Linked DNA regions of Homo sapiens: regions 2 and 3 are each linked to region 1. Evidence: promoter capture Hi-C in 16 types of primary human blood cells and fetal thymus (Javierre and others, 2016). All regions are on one chromosome and are shown on one strand. Each heading gives the region's core, a stretch centred on a gene start or on the middle of the fragment in contact. The rest is flanking DNA. Distances are from core to core; before and after follow the strand shown. Region 1 holds the start of ISLR (immunoglobulin superfamily containing leucine rich repeat). Region 2 overlaps CCDC33 (coiled-coil domain containing 33). Region 3 overlaps CCDC33 (coiled-coil domain containing 33).

The links. The method cuts DNA at HindIII sites, captures the fragments that hold promoters and counts their contacts. A CHiCAGO score of 5 or more calls a contact.
Region 2: a contact is called between a fragment that was not itself captured here and the fragment with the promoter of ISLR in region 1, in 1 of 17 cell types (endothelial precursors). The highest score is 5.1, in endothelial precursors.
Region 3: a contact is called between a fragment that was not itself captured here and the fragment with the promoter of ISLR in region 1, in 1 of 17 cell types (endothelial precursors). The highest score is 5.0, in endothelial precursors.

The regions. Positions count from the first base shown.
Region 1 is chr15:74,172,373-74,175,948 of GRCh38, forward strand. It overlaps ISLR (immunoglobulin superfamily containing leucine rich repeat), which reads left to right and starts at 1,338. Exons shown (of 2, transcript NM_005545.4): 1 at 1,338-1,647; 2 at 2,479-3,576. The coding sequence starts at 2,487. RefSeq lists enhancers at 83-1,071, 1,072-2,059, 2,060-3,048. The HindIII fragment of the contact is 10,197 bases long and covers 1,114-3,576 here.
Region 2 is chr15:74,259,980-74,263,727 of GRCh38, forward strand. CCDC33 (coiled-coil domain containing 33) reads left to right here. Exons shown (of 19, transcript NM_025055.5): 3 at 2,461-2,594. Among named protein-coding and RNA genes, the nearest start is that of CCDC33, 26 kb to the left of the region's middle. RefSeq lists an enhancer at 3,322-3,748. The HindIII fragment of the contact is 1,056 bases long and covers 1,765-2,820 here.
Region 3 is chr15:74,284,077-74,287,785 of GRCh38, forward strand. The region is part of intron 10 of CCDC33 (coiled-coil domain containing 33); the gene reads left to right. Among named protein-coding and RNA genes, the nearest start is that of CCDC33-AS1, 34 kb to the right of the region's middle. The HindIII fragment of the contact is 3,196 bases long and covers 544-3,709 here.

The DNA.
Region 1 (3,576 bases), core at 88-2,587:
TCCATTGGACCATAATAATATCCTCAGCATCAGACTCGGGTGTTTTGCAGGCAGCATGCTGGGGACTTCTGTGGCCTTGCTTGGTGACAGGGAATGGGGTGTGATGAGCTGGGGCAGGCTTCCTGGGGATGCTTTCAGCCAAAGATGAGCCCTGTCTGCCCTTGGCCCTGCTGAGAGGGTAAGTTGAGTCATGAGCAGAATTCAACCAGTTATCAGATGGAAGGCCAAGGAAGCTTGGGGAGGGCTACTGAGGGGATACGGTAGGCTTGTCTGTGGAGAGCAAAATTCTTCAGTCTACAAAGTTCTTTTCTGGGCTCCTTCATCTTTCGGTTTCTCTTCCAGCTCCCTCGTTTTGGGCCTCTTTTGTTTCCCCATTCCCCTCCCCTGGGCCTTCCCGTTTGGAAAAGGGGTCACATATCCTCACCCTGGAGGCGTCTGCCCCTTCCACACAGTTGGTGTTGGAACAGTGGAGCTCAGAGAGGCCGATGCTGACCGCGTAGATGTCCAGCACCAACAGTGGGATTTTGGGCCCTGTGGGGGACACAGAGAGAACTCTCCGGGAGTGCGGCCCCTTGGCCTCCCCTCTGGGTGCCCAGTGGGCAGTGGGCCTGGGTGGCTCAGAATCCCAGCCAGGAGCACTGAAGGTCAACAGGCTCCCGCCCTGAGTTTTCTGAGCCAGGCCTCCCTGTTTCCTCCCCAGCCAGTGGGGAGCGCAGTGAGGGGCGGGGCCTGGAGTCTTGGGAGCTCCCTGGACAACAACATGCATTTAGCGCAGCTCAGTCTCAGAGCCAGCAGGATATGTTTTCTTAAAAAAAAAAAAAATGCCTAACATCTTGGCTTTCACCGAAGGGTTGGTATCTGCTTTGTACACTTTGGCCTTCTTGGCTTTTCACTGAAACACACACACATGGATGCACACTCACTTCCACACACAAACCCACACCAAGACAGACACACACACACACTCACACACAAACTCATGTACATGGTTTCATACCCACATCCATGCAAACACACATACAAATCCAGAAATACGCACCCTCACACCCACAAACTTGTACACACACACACACGTATACACACCAACACACATACAACCCTGGCTTGGACAAAAGCTTCCCGTTTTTTCTTGTTTGAAGTGGAAATCTCCCACCTTCCATGAGATTCAATTTCTCGCCCTTCCCCCGCTAAAATCCTCCTGGCCCCATCATTTCTTGGGTCCTTTCCAGACAGTGCTGTGTCTTTAAGGAAGTTGAAGCTGCTAAAAGTGAGTGAGAGAGAGAGAAAAAACACAACCCAAAAAAATTTGGCATCTCTTCCCCCCTCAAGTTTCTGGTGTCACTTATGAAACACAGGTCCTTGTTGCTGCAGAGAAGCAGTTGTTTTGCTGGAAGGAGGGAGTGCGCGGGCTGCCCCGGGCTCCTCCCTGCCGCCTCCTCTCAGTGGATGGTTCCAGGCACCCTGTCTGGGGCAGGGAGGGCACAGGCCTGCACATCGAAGGTGGGGTGGGACCAGGCTGCCCCTCGCCCCAGCATCCAAGTCCTCCCTTGGGCGCCCGTGGCCCTGCAGACTCTCAGGGCTAAGGTCCTCTGTTGCTTTTTGGTTCCACCTTAGAAGAGGCTCCGCTTGACTAAGAGTAGCTTGAAGGTAAGCCAGTGGGGAGGAGGGCTCCAGGGCCAGCGGCGGGAGCGGGAGGCCTGTTGGACATAGGGGCTGGTTCCCTCTTGGTCCATCCCTGCTGGTCTGAGGTGCGTGGGACAATCCCTAGCTTGGAGCCGTCCAGGGGGCATCTGCTTCTTCCACAACCCACAACTGAGGCCCCAGAAATCCCAGCTGCGTTTGGGCTGAGCCTCTGGCCTCACCCAAGTCAGCTGAGAGGTCCTGGCGGGGGTTTATTTAGGCAGCTGCCTGGCTAAGTTTGAACAGAACAGGCCACGGGTGTGATTCCACAGAAAAGGCCTGGTGTCTGCTGCGGTCATGGCCGGAGGAGCGGGAGAGGGCGGGTGGAGTGGATGGGGGTGGTGTGCACTGCACAAGGGGCCTCGTCTGGGCCAAGGCAAAGCATACCTATGGGGGGCTCCGGTGGGAGGGACTGCGGCCAGGATGTGGGAGGGCAGGGGGAGGTTCTGCAAAGTGCTGGGGGAGGGGGGTGGCTGGAAAACAGATTTCAAGTCATAAAGTCAGCTAGGAACAGGCCGAGGCAGGGAGAACTCTCCACTCGGAGGAGGAGCTGGGGTCCTCTTCCATCCCGTCTTCATCCTGCCTGGCTGCGTGACCTCGGGCAAGTCTCCGCCCTTCTCTTGGCCTCAGTTTCTCCTTCCGTAGGATGGGGGCGGTGGGCTAGGTGGTGTTGGGATTTAGCTGGGTTATGTGGGACAGGGCCTCCTGATGGGAAAGAGCTCTGGCTGGGCTTGTGGGAGGAATGAGTCCCTTTGGCAGGTTCTCGGGATCCCCTGGGTGACATGCCTTTCTCTGCAGGAGGCACCATGCAGGAGCTGCATCTGCTCTGGTGGGCGCTTCTCCTGGGCCTGGCTCAGGCCTGCCCTGAGCCCTGCGACTGTGGGGAAAAGTATGGCTTCCAGATCGCCGACTGTGCCTACCGCGACCTAGAATCCGTGCCGCCTGGCTTCCCGGCCAATGTGACTACACTGAGCCTGTCAGCCAACCGGCTGCCAGGCTTGCCGGAGGGTGCCTTCAGGGAGGTGCCCCTGCTGCAGTCGCTGTGGCTGGCACACAATGAGATCCGCACGGTGGCCGCCGGAGCCCTGGCCTCTCTGAGCCATCTCAAGAGCCTGGACCTCAGCCACAATCTCATCTCTGACTTTGCCTGGAGCGACCTGCACAACCTCAGTGCCCTCCAATTGCTCAAGATGGACAGCAACGAGCTGACCTTCATCCCCCGCGACGCCTTCCGCAGCCTCCGTGCTCTGCGCTCGCTGCAACTCAACCACAACCGCTTGCACACATTGGCCGAGGGCACCTTCACCCCGCTCACCGCGCTGTCCCACCTGCAGATCAACGAGAACCCCTTCGACTGCACCTGCGGCATCGTGTGGCTCAAGACATGGGCCCTGACCACGGCCGTGTCCATCCCGGAGCAGGACAACATCGCCTGCACCTCACCCCATGTGCTCAAGGGTACGCCGCTGAGCCGCCTGCCGCCACTGCCATGCTCGGCGCCCTCAGTGCAGCTCAGCTACCAACCCAGCCAGGATGGTGCCGAGCTGCGGCCTGGTTTTGTGCTGGCACTGCACTGTGATGTGGACGGGCAGCCGGCCCCTCAGCTTCACTGGCACATCCAGATACCCAGTGGCATTGTGGAGATCACCAGCCCCAACGTGGGCACTGATGGGCGTGCCCTGCCTGGCACCCCTGTGGCCAGCTCCCAGCCGCGCTTCCAGGCCTTTGCCAATGGCAGCCTGCTTATCCCCGACTTTGGCAAGCTGGAGGAAGGCACCTACAGCTGCCTGGCCACCAATGAGCTGGGCAGTGCTGAGAGCTCAGTGGACGTGGCACTGGCCACGCCCGGTGAGGGTGGTGAGGACACACTGGGGCGCAGGTTCCATGGCAAAGCGG
Region 2 (3,748 bases), core at 1,043-3,542, 89 kb after region 1:
GCTTTTCTGCTGTTTCTGTGCAGGTCCCTGAGGAGGGAGGCTGTGAGGCCTTATTGTGCACTAACTATATATCTATAAGTAGCAGATCGGGTGGCTGGGTAGCACAGGGAGGCTGCTGAGAGCCTGAGGTCTCTGACTTTGCTGGGGCAGCTGTCAGGAGCGGGAGCCTAGGCACAGAGCGTCATGGGAGGTACTTAGATTGCACCCCTTGGTCAAGCATGGTCACAGAGCCGGAGGGAAAAAGGGACCCGAGGGTGGAGGGAGCAAGCTGAGCGCCACGTTCCTGCCAGGCTTCTGCCTTCCCTCTCTAGCCTGGCAGCCTCCCACACACCACTTTGCGGGTGTGAGGAGTCCATTCTGCAGAGCCTGCAGGGGTGTGTCTGGATGGACGCTCATCTGAGAAGGACTCCGGCTCTCTGGGAGATGCCCCTTCTCACCCCAGCTTGTACTCAGTGCTCCTTCCCCTTCATGCTGCCCTCAGGCAGGTCCTCTTGCAAAAACACCCAAGCTGTTTTGTATCACAAATGAGGGAATAACATGAACTGGGGCTTTCTGGATGCCAGGAGCTGAACATGCTTTCTTTCCAGTCCTTATAACACTCTCTCAGGGCGGTACTATTGAAAAAGGAGGAACTTAGTAGGTGCAGAGGGGAGATGATCTCGCCAGGATAAACGCGGGCTCCAAACCCAGCTCTGAATCATTCCCAAGCCTGTGCTCTTTCCAGGATTCCACACCTTGGCCCGAGCAGCCAGACATTCCCAATTGTAGACCCAGAACTGGGGGCATGATGGGGAAAAATCACGCCACGGCAAAGGGGCTGGTCACAGGAGGGTCAATAAGGCTAAGCTCTCTGGTGCTATGGGGTAATAACAGGAATCATATTTATATTTTAATAATTTAAGGTACTAAGAATTATTAACACTTTCTTGGTACTTAGCAATGTGCCAGGCACTACACATATTCATTCGTTTCCTTCCCACAACCGCCCTGCAGGCTGGGCACCGTTAGCATCTCTGTTTTATAGATGAAGAAAATAAGGCACCACAGGTTCTGTACCTTGCCTAACATCACACAGCTGGCACGGGGTAGAGCTGGGATTTGGAACCCAAAATGCCCAGCTGCAGGGTCCTTCTTACAATCACTGTGTCATACTGCCTCAGTCAAAGCACAGCAGGAGTCCTCAGTTGACCCCTGGAACTTGGAGATGGAACTCCTGCAAGCATGGTCACCCACAGAAGAAGGGCTCCTGCAAGCATGGTTACCCACAGGAGCAGGGCTGTGATGAGTGGGAGCAAGGAGCCAGGTCACAGCGTCACTTAAGTCTAAAGGGCAGAGGGAACAGTGAGGGCCGGGGGACTCCAGAGGGCTTCTTGGAGGAGAGGAACAAGCTGGGCTGGGAAGAACCATGTTGGTATTGCTAATGCACAGAGAAGGTGGGGTCTGAGCCAACTGGCCTGCCCCACACTCCCTTTGGGGTCCTTGAGGGTGAAACAAGGGCTGGTGGGGATGACGTCTTTGTTCCCATCCTGGGGTACCATTAGTGCGTCTTGCCTCCCTCCGCAAGGTGTGTGGTGTGGCTCCCCCTGCTACAGGATCTCTGGGATGATTCCTCAGCCCATGACTGCTGCAGTTAATGGAGCAGCGCTGGGGATGGCCCTGGCCTAGTAACCTCTTCTACAGAAGAAGTATTCACTCTCTCCCTGAGCCGTTTGACGGCTCTGGATCTCCGATATCTGTGGGGTGCACTGGGATGCAGAGGGCCCAAGCTTACCTCTCACCTTATACAGCCTGGTCCTGAACAATCTGAGTGCTTGAGGGCTGGAAAGCCCTTTCCACCACCCCCTGCCCCCAGGCCTGGACCCAGCTCCAGGTTTCCAGCTCCAGGGGCCCAGCCCAAGGCCCTGCACACAGCAGGCATCTCAGAAGGCAGCAGGATGTGCGTGCTTCATTGCAAGCATTTAGAACTGGGATTGCCGGGTGGAGCCTGGAAATCTGGGCCAGAAGTTTAGGGAAATAAGGTGAAGAAGAGAGGACAGCCAGGCGGGGCATCGCACAGCCACTCTGCCCAGAGGATTCCTCCCACCGAAACAGAACCTAGAGAAGAGGGAGGCCATGCACACGGGCTCCTGCTGGAGAGCCCTCCCTGGCAAGGGCTAGGAAGTCAGGCGGGCAAAGCATCTACCCTCTACCCCCATCCCTACCCCTGCCCTGAGCCTCTCTAAGTGAGAGGCTTGTGACTAAGTGAAGGCCTCAGTAGTGGCCAGCGAGACAGTGTGGTCACCTGGGCTGGCAGGAGAGCTGGGGGAGAGGCCTGGGATGACACAAGTGTCTATGCATGGGACAGAGCTCTCCATATTCTGTCCACCTTTCACTCAGATTTATGGACAGTGGAGCCTGGGATGGGGACAAGCAGCAGACAGAACCCCTCCCTTTGACTCACCCTGCCCCTGCTCTCCCCAGGAAAAGCACATCTGAGGAAAAGAACAATCAGAGCTCCAAGGCAGTCACATCTGTGACCTCAGAGCCCACCAGAGCCCCTATCTGGGGGGACACGGTGAATGTGGAGATCCAAGCTGAGGATGCAGGGCAAGAAGGTAAGCAGGGGCTGGGCAGGGCCGGCATGTGCAGGCAGGGTGTGAACACAGCCAAGGACTTAGAGCAAGAAGCAGGCTCCCTCTCACTGCAGCTGGTAGCCACCTGAACACCTCCTTGGGCTCAGTTAAAAGCACTTAGAAAAAATCATAATACTGTCACGCCTCATCTCCCCATCCTGCTCGAAAAATGAGTTGTTCCACATAAATGAATTTTCCAGACAATGCAAGCTTATCTTTTTTATGACTGTTGTTATTATTTTCATGGCTGTTATTAGCGCTGTCTCCTACTGAAACAGGACATTACAGCTTCCTGGCACGTCCCCACACATCACTCATTGGAGTCACCACCTCCCAGGAGGAGCAATGCTGCTCCCATTGCTTAAGAGAACATCGAGGTTCAGGGAATTTAACTGGCTTAAGCTTAAGACCAAGGACCAAGGACTCAGCATTGCATGTTCTTACTGCAGCTCCAGGGTTCCCGCTGCTTCCATTTGATTTTTTAAAAAATATTTGAAATGTCCCTAGAATGGATCCCTATTCCTGCCTAGTCCTCCCCAGGTGTCAGCCTGAGCCACGAGGTGCCCATGTACACACATGCATGTGCACACTTATATTTACTTTCACACTGTGGGTCTGTTGGATTTCCATTCTCCTGGGGGAGCTCAGGCTGGACACAAGGGAATACTGATTGGCTGATGCCCGGGTAGGGGGGCATCGCATCTGGCACTGCCAGCACAGACTGGAGGTGCCTGGCGATGTCTCTGATCTTATCTAGTCAGGACCTCAGACTTGCTTCTTGCAGGTGGTCTCTCCCTGAGAGGACAGGCTTTGCCTCTCCCCCTTGAAATCTTGCCAGGACCTAGACAGATCTCCTTGTTCTCCTCACACAGAGCAGAAAGCCAGCTGAAGACTATGGGAGAGGAGAAAGGAAACAGGAAGGGGAGCCTCCGTAAAAGGGGAAGGAGCTAGTTCTAGGTCAAGCCAGATAATTTTTCTTTTCTGCCTGTAAAGGGATAGGTGGAGCTGTTGGGATGCTTTAAGAAGATGCAAAAGAGGAGGAAAAATTGACCTAGGATTTCATGCAGAGGCACATGCGTGCCTGTGTGTGCATGTCTTTGTGAATGCCTGCATGCTGGTTCATGCGCATGTGTGAA
Region 3 (3,709 bases), core at 892-3,391, 110 kb after region 1:
GAATCTTGAAGACCAATTTAGGAGCCTAAGTATAAAGTGCTAATGTGGTTAAATTCACCATGAAGTCCTTGCAGCTGCAGCACCCATTCATTTATTCTTTTATTCCATGTATATTTGATGAGGAGTCACTGCATGTCAGGTAGCATGCAAGGCAAGAAGTAGAATTTTGGCTGCCATTGTGGATTGAAATGGGGAGAAGGAGGGGTTGGCAGCCATGGACCTCATTTTGATTTGAGCTCACACCTTCATTGGGCTTGGACATGGCTCTCTAGTGTCTGAGACCTTTTGGCATCCTTCTCCCTAAGGGATGGCAGGAAAGTGTTGAGAATTCATGAACAGGTCAGATGGCATTGCAGCTAAATCTAAAGGGGCCCATCCCCTTCTCCATCCCTCATCACCACCTTCACTGCAATACCATCATTGTTCTCTATGCAACTGCAAACATTTCTGAAGCACCCACATGAGCAATTGCTGTTCTGGATTTTAGGAATATTACACTGAAGAAGAAGAAGAAAAAAAAACAATCAGGCCCTGTCTTTCTAAAGCTTGCATTCTTAGCAGGGAGTATGGAACAGACAATAAAAAAATAATTCATGTCAGCTAATGATAAAGGGTCTGAGGAAACTCAAACAAGGTGACATGATACGGAGTCCTTGAAGGGGCTATTTGGACTCCTCATGGTAGCTGAGTACGGTGATGAGCTAAGCTGCTATAACAAAGAGATCAGGTTCCTGCCCCCTTATTGTTGCGCCTAAGGTGTTGCCTGCAACTTCATCATGGAAGGTACCTGGTATTCATCTCTGCATCCTAGACTTTGGGAAGGCAGCAGCAGGGCTGGGGCCATCAACTCTTCCACCCTTTAAATCAAATATTGCATAATGGGTCCAGAAGCCACCACCTGACACCTGGAGGTCTTAGAGTCCTGTGGACACTCCAGCTGCCGAGGCTTGTGATATTGGGCCTCTCAGGCCCCTCGTTCACATGGTCAACAACTCCATCCTAGGGGTAGCTCTTTGCATGTGGTCAGACATGGTCAGTGCTGTCACAGAGCGGAAATGCTTCAGGAGAAATGAATGCGCGTGCCGTATTTGGGCCCAGCCCCAGTCTGAGGACATAGGCTCTTTCCATGAGCCTCCATGTCCAGGAGTTTTGGGCACAGGCTGTCCTGGATAATTGGACATTTTGGTGAACACAGCTTCCCCACACCCGCCACTACCACGTCACCCATTCTCAGAGCTTTCAGAAGCAGCATGGTGAAATTTGCAAATAGGCAGAGACAGCAGTGGCCTCTCTCAACAGCCCACACTGGACAGCAATCTCCCTGGCAGCACGTGGTCATCCCAGTCTCTCCTCCTGTGCTGCCATGACAGACAGCTCACTACCTCCAGAAGCAGGCCTTCCTATGGCTGAGTGATAGAAATGGCCACCCCACATGATCTCAACCTGCCTCCTGGGGACCTCCCTCTGCCCCAAGCTCCTGGCTTTGCCCCCGAGGCTGCAGGGCGACCTCAGCAAGCCTCCTACATAGATCACATAGTCAGCCAACACTTTTGAGGGCAGACTAGATAACAAAGCCTGCAGACTCAGTGAATGGCAAGAGGTGGTGGTCTCTGGTTTGGAATATTGCACTTGAAGGTGGTTGGTTGGTGATGGGTTCGTTTTTCACCCTCTGGTAGGACTTCTCTAGTCATTTGCTGCTTAAAGTGATCTGCATTAAGATGGCTTGTGTGTGTAGGTGAGTACGTATATGAACACACACAGATCACACAAAAACTAGAAAAACATGTACACTCATATACAAAAACACATACACAGAAAACTTCCCTTTATTGCACATTCAGTGGGGACTGGCCTTTGAGGTCCATTAGGCTCTAAAAATCCATGAGTCTGGCTGGGTGCGGTGGCTCACGCCTGTAATCCCAAGACTTTAGGAGTCTGAGGCGGGCGGATCATGAGGTCAGGAATTCAAGACCAGCCTGGCCAACATGGTGAAACCCTGTCTCTACTAAAAATGCAAAAATTAGTTGGGTGTGGTGGTGGGTGCCTGTAATCCCAGCTACTTGGGAGGCTGAGGCAGGAGAATAACTTGAACCTGGGAGGTAGAGGTTGCAGTGAGCCAAGATCATGCCACTGCACTCCAGCCTGGACAACAGAGCAAGACTGTGTCTCAAAAACAAAAACAAACAAACAAAAAAACTCCATGAGCCTATGGCTACTCCACATACACACACACACAGAAACCTTTGGTCTCCTCCATTCCTCCTCTGATCTCAGCCTCTTCTCTTTGAAGAGTGTGATGTGGTCTCTGGGGAGTCTACACTTCCCCAGGCAAAGCAGCTTGGCTCTCTTAATGAACTGGTTTCGAGATCCCACAGCATCCTGGGTGCCCTCCAGCTTGCAGCCAGCCTCTTTGAAGTGAGGCCCACACTGCCCAGGTTTCCTGGGCTGACCTTGTGGATTGGAGCCTGGCATGCACACAGTAGGTGCTCACTGCATCAGTTCCTGCCTCTCTGCCTGGAAATGCACCTCCCCATGAGGTGGGACAAGTTCATGCCGTCATCTGGGTATACAGCAACATTTCTCCTCTTGCATTTAAGATTTGGGATCCATCACCTTGCCCAGATAGGGCACCAGGCAGAAGTAGGGCCTCTCAGATGGGTGGCCACACCCTCCTCAGCCCACAGCCCACAGACATGCTGGGATGACGTGAAACCCCCTGGCTTCCTGGGAGTATAGAGAGGGTGCATTTGAGGAGAGGTGGCAGTGGCACCTGCTGCCACCACTGAGGGGAGGGGCAGGTGCCATGGTCCCATCTGACCTTCCCCCTCCCTCTTCCCCTCATAGGGAGAGAGGGGGGCAAGTCTTTGATGCTACTCTGGTGGCTTCTTTTCAGACTAGTTACAAAGATCTCTCTGGAGACCAGCCCAGAGTGAGGACAAGTGGCCACTTAGCAAATATAGAGGAAAGGGCAGGGGACAGGCAGCATCATGCTGGCTTTTGAAGAATTTTTATGGATTTTTTGTAAGCCACACCTGACACCCCTGAGATGGTCCTTAGAGAAACTGCAACACAAACCTCCCTCCATTTCTTCCCCAAGCACAGCGGCCTGAATGGGCCAGTGCCCAGGGCAGCACAGCAGTCTCCTCCACTGGTTCTGCCCTCTGAAGGCTCTGTTCCCACCCCCAAGACTCCATCTGTGAAAACACTACCATAAGGATGGATCCAGAGAGAGAGACCCTTTCCCTGCCACTATCTCACACCATCCCTCACTGCCCTCCTTTCCACACCCAAAGCCTCTGCCCTCCTATCCTCTCATTGCCTCAGGTCATTTGGCAGGAGGCAGAGGAGACAGATCCACCCCTTACCCACAGGTGCCCTTTCCCTCACCTGCTCAGGTTCTAGGTCCAGTGTAGAGCTCTTCCCATCCCATCCAAAGAAAACTTAGAGCTGGGCGTGGTGGCTCTGGAGAGATTAAATCTGTATACCTGTAATCCCAGCACTTTGGGAGGCCGAGGTGGGCAGATCACCTGAGGTCAGGAGTTTGAGACCAGCCTGGCCAACATGGAGAAACCCCGTCTTTACTAAAAATACAAAAATTAGCTGGGCTTGGTGGCAGGAGCCTGTAATCCCAGCTACTGGGAGGCGGAGGTTGCAGTGAGCCGAGATCACACCACTGCACTCCAGCCTGGGCGACAGAGCAAGACTGTCT